Regions from separate parts of the Homo sapiens genome. Here regions 1 and 3 are each linked to region 2. The links are contacts of gene promoters, found by promoter capture Hi-C in human tissues and cell types (Jung and others, 2019). All regions are on one chromosome and are shown on one strand. The core of a region is centred on a gene start or on the middle of the fragment in contact, and the rest is flanking DNA. Distances in the headings are between cores, read along the strand shown.

What was found. The method cuts DNA at HindIII sites, captures the fragments that hold promoters and counts their contacts. A contact is called where the count stands out against the background at its distance.
Region 1: the fragment with the promoter of UBE2O here is called in contact with the fragment with the promoter of UNC13D in region 2 in 1 of the 25 tissues and cell types used here (psoas muscle).
Region 3: a contact is called between a fragment that was not itself captured here and the fragment with the promoter of UNC13D in region 2, in 1 of the 25 tissues and cell types used here (hippocampus).

The regions. Positions count from the first base shown.
Region 1 is chr17:76,451,177-76,454,994 of GRCh38, forward strand. It overlaps UBE2O (ubiquitin conjugating enzyme E2 O), which reads right to left and starts at 1,976. Exons shown (of 18, transcript NM_022066.4): 1 at 1,549-1,976. The coding sequence starts at 1,965. It also overlaps a transcript of AANAT not described here. RefSeq lists silencers at 1,328-1,527, 1,648-2,187, 1,982-2,150. The HindIII fragment of the contact is 12,276 bases long and covers 1-3,818 here.
Region 2 is chr17:75,843,154-75,846,648 of GRCh38, forward strand. It overlaps UNC13D (unc-13 homolog D), which reads right to left and starts at 1,251. Exons shown (of 32, transcript NM_199242.3): 1 at 1,068-1,251; 2 at 331-366; 3 at 6-113. The coding sequence starts at 1,184. WBP2 (WW domain binding protein 2) reads right to left here. Exons shown (of 8, transcript NM_012478.4): 8 at 2,546-3,495. RefSeq lists silencers at 521-580, 1,431-1,490, 1,501-1,660 and enhancers at 768-1,472, 1,891-1,970, 2,101-2,190. The HindIII fragment of the contact is 8,770 bases long and covers 193-3,495 here.
Region 3 is chr17:76,704,539-76,708,367 of GRCh38, forward strand. The region is part of intron 1 of MXRA7 (matrix remodeling associated 7); the gene reads right to left. Among named protein-coding and RNA genes, the nearest start is that of MXRA7, 4.5 kb to the right of the region's middle. The HindIII fragment of the contact is 4,690 bases long and covers 1-3,829 here.

The sequences.
Region 1 (3,818 bases), core at 726-3,225, 610 kb after region 2:
ATAGATGGGTGGTGAAAAACATTCTTAAAAACTCACAGAAAGACACCAGCAATCATCTGGTGTCACACAGTATACAGCAATAACCCTCTTTTACTGACACAATACTGGGTAATTTTTAACAAGCATTCTGTTGCACAAAAGTAATATTTTCCAAATACTCTTGTAAATGGACTGATAATTTTCCTTCCAAGTCTCAGAGCTGTTGCCTGATTCACATTTCTCTGAGGGGAAGCAGGGTCCTGTGTGTGGATTTGTGTCTGTGGATGTATGTGCATCCCCAACAAAAAGACCCCGCTGGTATCAGCAGTCACTTCTGCCTCTAGGAAATGGATCATGTGCTCTTCTCTGGAGTGGGGCCTTTTTCCTTCTCAAGCCGTTGTCACAGACCCCGCTTTGTAGTTTGACATGAAACCCCGTTCCTCTGTAGTCTTTGTCTCCCACTGTGTGAGAAACCCAGATCAACTTCCAAAGTGCCCTCCCCTGAAATCAGACCTCTCAACCTCCCAAGGACCTAAAACAGCGTAGGCCTGATTCCTGCTTAGAAATGTTTTCTTGAAGGGGAGGGGAAGTAGGAGAGAAAGAAGGGGTGTGAGATACAGGGGGGTGTGTGTGTGTGTGTGTGTGTGTCAATTACTGATAGGAATTCACATTCTGGAAAACAAGCCACCAAACCAACCCGGGTTCAAGGTTTCGGGTTTATGATGACAAGCCTCTTTGTTTTGTAAAACTGCTATACTCACTAGCATCACCCCAAAAACCATACGGGAGTCAGATGTCTGCTTAACAGCTTCAGGTCAAGAAAAAACCTTCGGGTTTCCAAATTGGTGACTCCCCTCTACCCAGGGTTCTGGATTATTTTTTTCAAGGAGTCCATATGCACTTAGGAGTCATCAATCCCGGTCGCAGCTGTCAGAATCCTCCCCCCCAAGTACTATTCATACCGGGGCTCTGATTGCTAATGATTTTACTCACAAAGTTCCCTGCAGCAATTAAAAGGAGGCAGCAGGGTAAAACAAAAAGAGGCTGGGTGGCTTCACCATAATGCAGCCTGTAAGCTAGTGAACTTCTTGGGTTCGGCTGGGATTTTCACCTCTATCTTTGTTTTGGAATGCCCACAACCCCTCCCTGCACGGACCCGGCACGGCCTTCATTTCTGGATGCACAATGCAGTACCGAGCTCCTTGGGGGTCAGCAAAACGCCGCACTGGTGTAACGCCGAACGCGCCCCAGAACCTGAGTCCCCACGGGAGTCGGTCCACGTCTCTAAATCTCGAGGCCGACACCACAGCATAACATGTCTTAGAAGTCCCCTCAAGTCGGGAAGCCCAGGGCCCGCCCGGTCCCGGGCCAGCAGTGCCTGGCTGGCGTGTGCGCCCAGAGCTGCTGCAATGACTTTGCATGGAGTGTACCCTCCACTGGGGCTGTCCTCCCGCGTCGGCCACTGCAGTGGCACCGCTCCGGGCAGGGCCCTGCACGCCGTCCTTCCCTGGCCTCGGCCCGGCCGCCGACCCCCTGCCGCCCGCGCCGCCCAGCCCCCGCCCGCCGCACCTTGGTCTCCTTCACATGCTGCTTGACGCCCTCCGGGTACCACTGGACGCGCACGTAGCCGCGGCGCAGGGGGCTGGCCCGGCCCTCCTCGTGGCCCGCGCCCCCGGCCTCGGAGCACCCCGAGCTCCCGCGGCCCTCCTCCTCGCCCTCCGAGTCCGAGTCCTCGCCGTGGATGAGGCGCACCAGCCCGAAGTGCACGGAGCCACGGTAACGGCCCGACACCAGGTCGTGAGAAAACAGCAGGCGCTGCGAGCCGGCTTCTGGGCCGGAGTCCGAGGACGGCCCGGAGGCCGAGTCCGAGGCGGGCGCCGGCGCCGGGACGGGGGCTGCGGCTGGGGCCGGGACTGCCTCCGGGGCTGGAGCCGGGGCCTGGGCTGGAGCGGGAGCTGCGGGCGTGGGGGCTGCGGGATCCGCCATAACTGCTCTGCGCGAGTCTCGGGCGGCGGCGGCGACAGCGGCGGCGAACGAGGCGCGGGGAGGCGGGACCAGCGGGCGCCGGGGGCGGGGCCATAGCGCGCTGACGTGTCCCTGCGTGGCGCCGTCGTCAGGGAGCCGGGATGCAGTTGCTAGGAGCCACCGCCTCGTCGCTAGGGGACGCTGAAGATGCCGCGGGGGGCGGGGGCAGGATGGAATCCACTAAGAAGGGGCGAGACCAGTGAGGATTCAACTAAAGGGAGCGAGAAGGGGCGGGGACCCGGGAGGAGGAAGTGGAGTGGCCACCGAGGAAGAGGGGAGTGGTCGGGGTGGGGCACAGGATGGTGGAGAGACTGTCAACAACTTTTAATGAGCTCCCTTGGCGTCCTAGCCTAGCCCCCAGGCACTGGGAGCATTGCAGAAAGAGAAAGATACTGTCCCTGTCCTCTAGGTGTTTCCAGTCTAGTTGGGGAGACAAAACAAATACACATTAAATAGATAACAAACAACTCCAACTTGTAAGGCTATAATAGATACGTGTAGAGCATATGTATAATGCACTGTATTCAGGAATTCCAAGCAGTTCGAACGTCATGACCCCTCAGAAGTTGACCCAGAAGCTGGTGAAGGAGGCCCAGAGAAAGGTAACAAAAGGATCAGTGGTCCCAGTGGTTTGGCTACAAATCCATGCAGATAAATTCAAAGCTCCCTGAAGCCAAGAATGAATGGCAAGAGGTAGTATAGTAAGGTAGCTAAGAGTGGGGACCACGGATTCCAATTTTTGGCACTGCCACTTACTAATCTATAAAAATAGGCACACTGATTAACTTATTTTCATCTTAATTTGCTCATCTGTGAAATAGGGATGATAATAGCAATACTCATCTCATTGGGCAATTGGAGGATTAAGTGAAGTAGAACAGTGCCTGGCATTTAGCTCCTTCGATAAGCTTAACCATTGTTGTACTATTTCCAAACTCCCTGCCTAGACTAAATTCCAGACTGGCAGAACTGTTATGGTCTGCTCCATATTGTCATTTTAAAATATAAAAAGTAGGCCGGGCGCGGCAGCTCACACCTGTCATCCCAGTACTTTGGGAGGCTGAGGTGGGCGGATCACGAGGTCAAGAGATTGAGACCATCCTGGCCAACATGGCGAAACCCCATCTCTACTAAAAATACGGAAAAAAAAAAAAAATAGCTGGGCGTGGTGGCACATGGCTGTAGTCCCAGCTACTCAGGAGGCTGAGGCAGGCAAATCGCTTGAACCTGGGAGGCTGAGGTTGCAGTGAGCCCAGATCGCGCCACTGCACTCCACCCTGGGCAACAGAGCAAGACTCTGTCTCAAAAAAATAAATAAATAAAAATAAATAAAATATAAAAAGTAACTCTAGGGCCAGGCGTGGTGGCTCATGCCTGTAATCCCAGCACTTTGGGAGGCAGAAGCAGATGGATCACCTGATCACCTGAGGTCAGGAGTTCAAGACCGCCCTGGCCAACATGGCGAAATCCCTTCTCTACTAAAAGTACAAAAATTAGCTGGGCGTGGTGGTGTGCACCTGTAGTCCCAGCTACTTGGGAGGCTGAGGCAGGAGAATTGCTTGAATCTGGGAGGCAGAAGTTGCAGTGAGCCGAGATCATGCCACTACACTCCAGCCTTGGCAACAGAGCAGGACTCTGTCTCAAAAAACAAAAAACAAAAAAAAGGCTGGATGTGGTGGCTCTTGCCTGTAATCCCAGCACTTTGGGAGACCGAGGCGGGTGGGAGACCCGAGGTCAGGAGTTCAAGACCAGCCTGGCCAAGATGGTGAAACCCTGTCTCTACTAAAAATACAAAAATTAGCCGGGCGCGGTGG
Region 2 (3,495 bases), core at 1-2,500:
CTCACCTCCTGCAGGTATCGCAGCAGCTCAGAGGCCTCCGTCACATGGTTGGGCTCAGGATGACCCAGGCGGTGCAAGACAGTGTAGAGTGCGTCCTCGTAGAGCAGGGCCCGCTAAGACACACGGGGTCACCTTGGGGACCCCACCAGCCACCCCTGGCACCAACACCTCTCGCCATGGGCAGGACAAGGGCGGCTTGTGCAGCGGAGGGAGTTGAGACCCAGGAGTCCCCTCCCCACCGCAAGTTGCTTGCTGCCATCAGCGTCGGCCGGCAGGAGGACACACAGCCGCCCTCCCCACCTCTCTGCACCCCAGCACTCTGACTCTTACCTGCTCGGGGGAGAAGTGGTGGGATGGAGGCTGGATCTGCAGAGCAAGGTGGAAAGGCAGTGTCCCGGGAGGCCCAGAGCAGGCTCAGATGGACAGGAATGGCTCCTCTGAGGCCTGATCCAGGCCAAGGGTATGGGGGCCCCAGCACCCCGGCCTCCAGCCCCAGTGATGCCCCGCACCTGTTCCCCCAGCAGGCCTCCTGGAGGTCCGTCCCTGGGCCCGCCGTGGCTGAGGTCCATGGGTGCCCAGCAGCGCGAGCCCTCCGCACCCGCACCCCACCTCCCTCCCTTCCCCAGAGGAAACAGCTCTGCTTATCAGTGGCGGCTGCTCCTCACCCAGCAGCGGAAGTGAGGCTCGGCAGCGGAGGTGAGGGGGGTGCCACGTCGGCCTGGGGGTCTGCTGCTCCCCGAACAGCTCACCCCACAGCAGGGACACCCCCACCTAATGGAGTCGGCTCTTCTGAAGCTGGAGGAGTAGGGGATGGGGTCAGGCCAACCGGGAGGGAGGGGTTCTGAGAGCCTCAGACCACAGGGCCTGAGGCCCACAGTGGCCCAGAGTCCATCTGGCAGCCCCTGCTCTGCTGGCCCAGGGGGCTCTCCCCAGGGTGGAGTAGGCAGGGGAGGGTCGCTGGTCCCCAGTCCCAGCCTTCGAGAGGTGGGGCCAGACAGCAGGGCACCCGTACCCGAGACCACAGTGCTCCCCAAGGCCAGCTCTCTCCCCAGTGAGGTCACTCCTACCTCCGGGGCCATTTGGGGCGGGGGATCCTGTAGATCTCTGACTCTGCGGCGCCTTATCTTGATGGCCTGGCGCAAGAAGGGAGGGCGCTGCTGCGGATGGGAGAGGAGTGTCGCCATGGTGGCCTTCTCTGCCCTTCCCTGTCCGCTGGTGCTGGGTGAAGACAGCGAAGCCACAGGATTATGCAAAGAGCCTGGGGCTGCCACCCTCTGTCAGGGGAAGTTTTAGGGAGGGTGGCTGGGAGGGACGGAAGGGTGAGGGTTTCACCGCTTCGGAGAGGCAGTCTCCCAGGCCCCCTGCACCTTCCCCAGCTGGGATCCCTACAGGACCCTCCTCTGGCTGGAGCAGAAGGTGGACCCCGTGGGCAGGCCTGGCCCCGCCCCACCCTCCTACAGAGGCCCTGGGAAGGGGACAACGCTCTCAGCAGGGGGCGGGGGGGCCCAGAACAGGCGGGCAGCATCCTGCCCCATCCATGTGCTGTGCCCAGGCTGGGCTGAACCCTGAGAGAAGCTGACCTGGGCCCGGGGGGGTTCTCACCCCACTTCCTCGAGTGCGTCCAGACGTGGGGCGGGGCGGGGTGGGGTGGGGTGTGGTGGCGCCCAGGGTGGGGGCTCCCAAGAGGCGTCTCCCTGGAGGACAGCCAGTTGCTCAGCCTGCCTGGCCCCACAGGTGACATTCCTTGGAGATGACGGGGCCAAGCTGTGCTGGGCAGGGACAGCCCTGTGCCCCTGCCCCCACCTTGGCAGTCAGGACAGTGCTCCCTTCAGACACCCTTGAAGGGGGCTTAGCCAAGTCCCAGAGAGCTCTGGGCCAGGCTGGCCAGGAGGAGGAGGCAGAGGGGCTGCTGCCCGATCTCTCCTGAGGACAGACTTGGCTCCCGGGGGACAGGAAAATGCGCCTCAGCATGGGGCTTTCCTAGAGCTCTGTGGCCTGCCCACCCTGTGCCCAGTGCTGGGCTGGGGGACTTGCGGGCGTGTGGGCCTGGTCACGGCCTTTGGCCATTTCCCACCCTCCTGTCCCTTCAAGTTCACAGCAGGGCACGTGACGTGGGTGGTGGCAAGCCGGCTTGGCTACCTCAGTGTCCCTGTCACAGGTCCTGACGTGCTCCAGGGCTGACTCGGCCTCCTCCCTCCAGCAACCAGGACTTAGGCCAGGGCTGCCATTCCTCGAGGAGCCAGCAGGGGACAAGGTGGCAGCCCCAACTCCTCCCTTCAAGGCCAACTCTGGGCCACATCCACCTCTGTCCCAGCCAGGCCCTGGGGACTCAGTGGGGGAGGGACACAGCTGCTGAGCGACAACCGTTAAGAACCAGCTCCAGAGGCCAGAGCTGTCTTGGGGACCAGACAGGCTGGCTGGGCCGTGAGAATGGGGATCCTCCCATGGGAGGGAACCGTCCCAGAAGTCTCCAGGGCCCTCAGCGGCCAGACGGCTCTCCTTCCGGAAGAGACCCCCGGGTCACCACACGCAGAGCCAGAAAGGGTCCAGTTATTTCATTTTTACTATTTCACATTTTCAGCAAACAAATCGAGGTGCAAACAGGGTTTATTTCACATTAATATATTAACTGGATTTTTTGTCAAATAAATAGGGAATTCTCTTTAAATAACCATCTCCTCACTTCATGGCCAGTCCAGGGACAAACAAGAGTGAATGTTAGCGCATCCAGGGGCACAAAGCTTAAGGGGAAGAAGCAGGCTGGGGGGCTGGTGGCAGGTCCCGGCCAGCACACAGGGTCAGGGGCCCTTGTTCCCGGCCCCACCCAGCAGCCACCAAGTGGACAGACATGCATTCTCTGGTTCCAGTCAGGAAGCTCCTTCTAGAAGGAAGTGAGAGGTGAGGGAAAGCAAATTCCAGAAACACCAGCAAAAGGCAGAAGGGCTTCCTCCCAGCCTCGGCGGCCCTGCCCCGACGCCACCCAAGCCCTGGAAGCTCATTTTACAGCTTCAAAAGTCACACAGGGTGGCAACAACATGACCCAGGACAGGGAAGGGAAGGAAGGGTGGCGGGGGCTGCAGCTGGACCCTGGCTGAGTGGAATGCGGGCGCGGTGGCCTTCTGAGACCAGCACAGACCAGCAGAGGGAATGTGAGCAGGGTCTGGCAGGGCCCGGGAAGACACCTGGCTGGTCTGAAGTGGCTCATGAGGCTGAGTGTAGCAGTGGGTGCCAGACTGAGGGAGCTGGACTGCGGTGGAGGAGGTGGCCAGAGAGTCCCTTCGAGGGGAGAAGCTGAGAGTGAAACAGGAACAGGGGATGCTCCGTGCTCCCAGAAGAGCCCCAGACGGTGAGGGAGGTACGCTGGGCAGCACTGTGGGCTCCGGGCTGGCATGGGAAGCTGGGCGGCACCTCTCCCGAGGCCGGGGGCCCTAATGTCCCACAATGCTAGTTCCTGGTAATTGTTTATGATCAGACCTGGAGGGAGAACAAGGCGCC
Region 3 (3,829 bases), core at 1,075-3,574, 860 kb after region 2:
CTTTGGGAGGCCGAGGCAGGCTGATCATTTGAGGCCAGGAGTTCAAGACCACCCTGGCCAACATGGCGAAACCCCGCCTCTACTAAAAATACAAAAATTAGCCAAGCATAGTGGTGCATGACTGTAATCCCAGCTATTTGGGAGGCTGAGGCAGGAATACTGCTTGAACCCAGGAGGTGGAGGTTGCAGTGAGCTGAGATTGCGCCACTGCACTCCTGGGCGACAAGAGCAAAACTCCGTCTCAAAAAAAAAAAAAAAAAAAAGAATGCTGGAAACAGTTCTGCATGAGGTCCCCTTAGAGAAGGGGCTTCTGAACCTGACCTCCTCATCCTGTTCCATACATCTGTCCTTAACAGTGGCAAGCCCAGTGTGGCCAAACGCAGGTTGTTCCAGAAATACTCCTAACCATCAGGGATCTGGCATTTCTCTGGAAGACGGTTTACCAGAGGCCCAAGCTGGTCTCCCTCCTCCCACAGTGTGGTTTGAGCCGAGTGGGAAAGAGCGGGGCTACAAAAAGGAAACTGTCTGCATGCTCACCATTTCATTTCTAGCTCTCCAAAGCTAGGTGGCTTTTTTTCTCAAGACATATTCTTTAAAAACATACTCCTTCTTGCTAAGCAGAAAATTCTAGCTGACATTAGTCTGTAACCAAGGCTCTTTCTCTCTGAAAGAACAAAGTTTATCTATTAGGAAAGCCCCTGGACTTCTTTCATATATGGAAAAAAATTAAGTTAGGCACTCAAACAACTTTACAAAAAAATACCCACTGGAACTACTGAACAGGGAACTCTACTTACAGCCCTCCAAGGCATCTTCTATTCAGTTGCTCTATATCGTTATAGTTATTGTGAATACAATATTTTATGTTCTACCTTTTTACTTATTTCATACTAATTTGCTAATGAATCCAATGTGCTAATTAATGAACATTTGGATTATTTCTAGTTTTTTCCCCAGTAAGTCACTGGGCCTGTTCTGGACTAAATATTTGTGTCCCCTGCAAATCTATCTGTTGAAGTCTTAACCCCCAGTGTGATGGTATCTGGAGGTGGGGGTCTTTGGGAGGTGAGATTTAGACGAGGTCACGATGGTGGAGTCCCTACAATGCTATGAGGGCCCTGATAAGAAGAGGAAGAGACATCCCTCTCTCTCTGGCATGTGAAAGTACAGCAAGAAGGTGGCTGTCTGCAGGCCAAAAAGAGAGCCCTCACCAAAACCAGAATCTGCCAACACCTCCATCTTGGACTTCCCAGCCTCCAAAAGTGTAGGAAATAATGCCTGTTGTTTAAGCAACCCAGTCTGTGGTATTTTGATATATCAGCCTAAGCTGCTTAAAGACAAGGACCTAAAGTGATATAAACAACTGGCAAATATCTACTTGGCCCTCCACTACTTGGCTTCTGAGATTTTGCTAAGAGAACAGAAAGTAGGACCACACTGCCATCACAAAGGCCCACACTGCCATCACAGAGGACCACACTGCCATCACGAAGGCCCACTCTGCTATCACAAAGGACCACACTGCCATCACAGAGGACCACACTGCCATCACAAAGGCCCACGCTGCCATCACAAAGGCCCACGCTGCCATCACAAAGGACCACACTGCCGTCACAGAGGCCCACGCTGCCGTCACAGAGGCCCACGCTGCCATCACAGAGGCCCACGCTGCCATCACAAAGGCCCACTCTGCCGTCACAGAGGCCCACTCTGCCATCACAGAGGCCCACGCTGCCGTCACAGAGGCCCACGCTGCCGTCACAGAGGCCCACGCTGCCATCACAAAGGACCACGCTGCCATCACAGAGGCCCACTCTGCCATCACAGAGGCCCACGCTGCCGTCACAGAGGCCCACGCTGCCGTCACAGAGGCCCACACTGCCATCACAAAGGACCACACTGCCATCAAAAAGGACCACACTGCCATCAAAAAGGACCACACTGCCATCAAAAAGGACCACACTGCCATCACAAAGGCAGGAGAGATGATGGGGAAGTTCACCTGCTCCTGGGTCATTCTGGGAAGGCTGGGGTCTCTGTAGCTTCCAGAGCCCACACCTATGGTGAACAGGTTGGTGAGGGCAGAGGACACAGGTGGACCTGACAGCAGGGTGACTTCAGGGGAACCAGGGCCAAGTCACATGGTTAAGACAGACAGATGAAGGCTGTGCTACCCACTCAGACCACCACCTCCAGAGTGTCTGAAAAACCAACCCCTTTCCCAAGAAATTTCCCAAAGAAGAATGTTGGCTTCTTTGTTCCAACATTCTCTTTTGAAAAATTCCAAACCTACAGAAAAGTTGAAATAATAATACAATGAATACCATACACCCTTCACCTAGATTCACCAATGGTTAACATTTTGCCATCTTTGCATTCTCTCTCTATACACACACACACTGTGTGTGTGTGTGCATGTAACTATTTGAATCATGACATGTCATCCCAAAATGTTTCAGCCTGCATCTTCCTAAGGATAAGGACATTGTTTACACAGCCATCTGCCGGTATCGTACACAAAAAATTCAGCGTTGATTCAATAAGCTTACCTAACACAGCCATTCATTTAAAAAATGTCTCAATTATCTCCAGTATGTCCTTTATAGCTCCCTTCTCTGATGGAGAATCCAATCAAGGATCAAGATTGTATTTATTTGTCATATTGCTTTAATCTCCTAAATCCCAATTAAATCTAGAAGAGTCTCTGTGTGCTTCATGACACCGGCCCACTGCCTTGCAGGAAGTCCCTACTCTTTTTTTTTTTTTTTTTTTTTTTTTTTTTTTGAGATGGAGTCTCGTTCTGTTGCCCAGGCTGAAGTGCAGTGGCACGATCTTGGCTCAACTGCAACCTCAGCCTCCTGGGTTCAAGTGATTCTCCTGCCTCAGTTTCCTGAGTAGATGGGATGACGTGCACGCCACCATGCCTGGCTAATTTCTGTATTTTTAGTAGAGACGGGGTTTCGCCATGTTGGCCAGGTTGGTCTCGAACTCCTGACCTCAGGTGATCCTCCTGCCTCGGCCTCCCAAAGTGCTGGGATTACAGGTGTGAGCCATCGCGCCCGGGCTCTAGTCTGTCTATGAGCAGAGCTAGGCCCCAAGTACCGAGATACTTGAGTCCTGGCACAGACAAGAAATTTAACTCTAGTGCTATTCAAATGACCCTTGACGCTTTGCCAATTACCAATGTTTGGGAATCCGACCATCCAGCCTTGCTCCAATCCACAAGTCCATTAGGTAAGAGGCCTGGCAATCCTAAAACCCCAACCTACACAGGAGCACCAAGAAAGCCCTGAGTCCTGGCCTGAAAAGAGGCCGGCTCCTGTTCTTGACTTCGTTGGCTCATGATTCTTTGCGTGAACAGGCCTTGCCTATAATGCTTCCTCACAGCCCACCCTGTGCTAATCCTTAGGAGAGAAAAGAGGTTCTAGCAGTATCATTCCGCTTCTCCTCAGCCTCCCTGCCCTGGCCTGTGCTGCCCTGGGGAAGCAAGAGCTGCACTGATCTCATCCCCATTTCTTTGGTCCATTTCCAGGGTCTCGGCCTATAGTAGCCCCTCCCCACTACTTTGTCCTTGGCCAAAGAGGGCACCGTGCACTAGGGGACGCTCCTGAGCGATCCCCAATAGCAGCTGAAGGCTGCTTCCCGGGGCGAGAGATCCTTCTCAATAATCAGCTTTGTAGTCAGAGGCAGCAGCTGCCCCAGCCCGCCCAGGCCTCCCTGGGAAGGGAGAGGACTGGATTAGAAAGGAGGCAGTTAATGGAAAATGAAGAGGGAGGGGAGAGGTGAGTTACACGCTGCTCCCCAGGGCAGTGACTTCCGAGCTAACAGC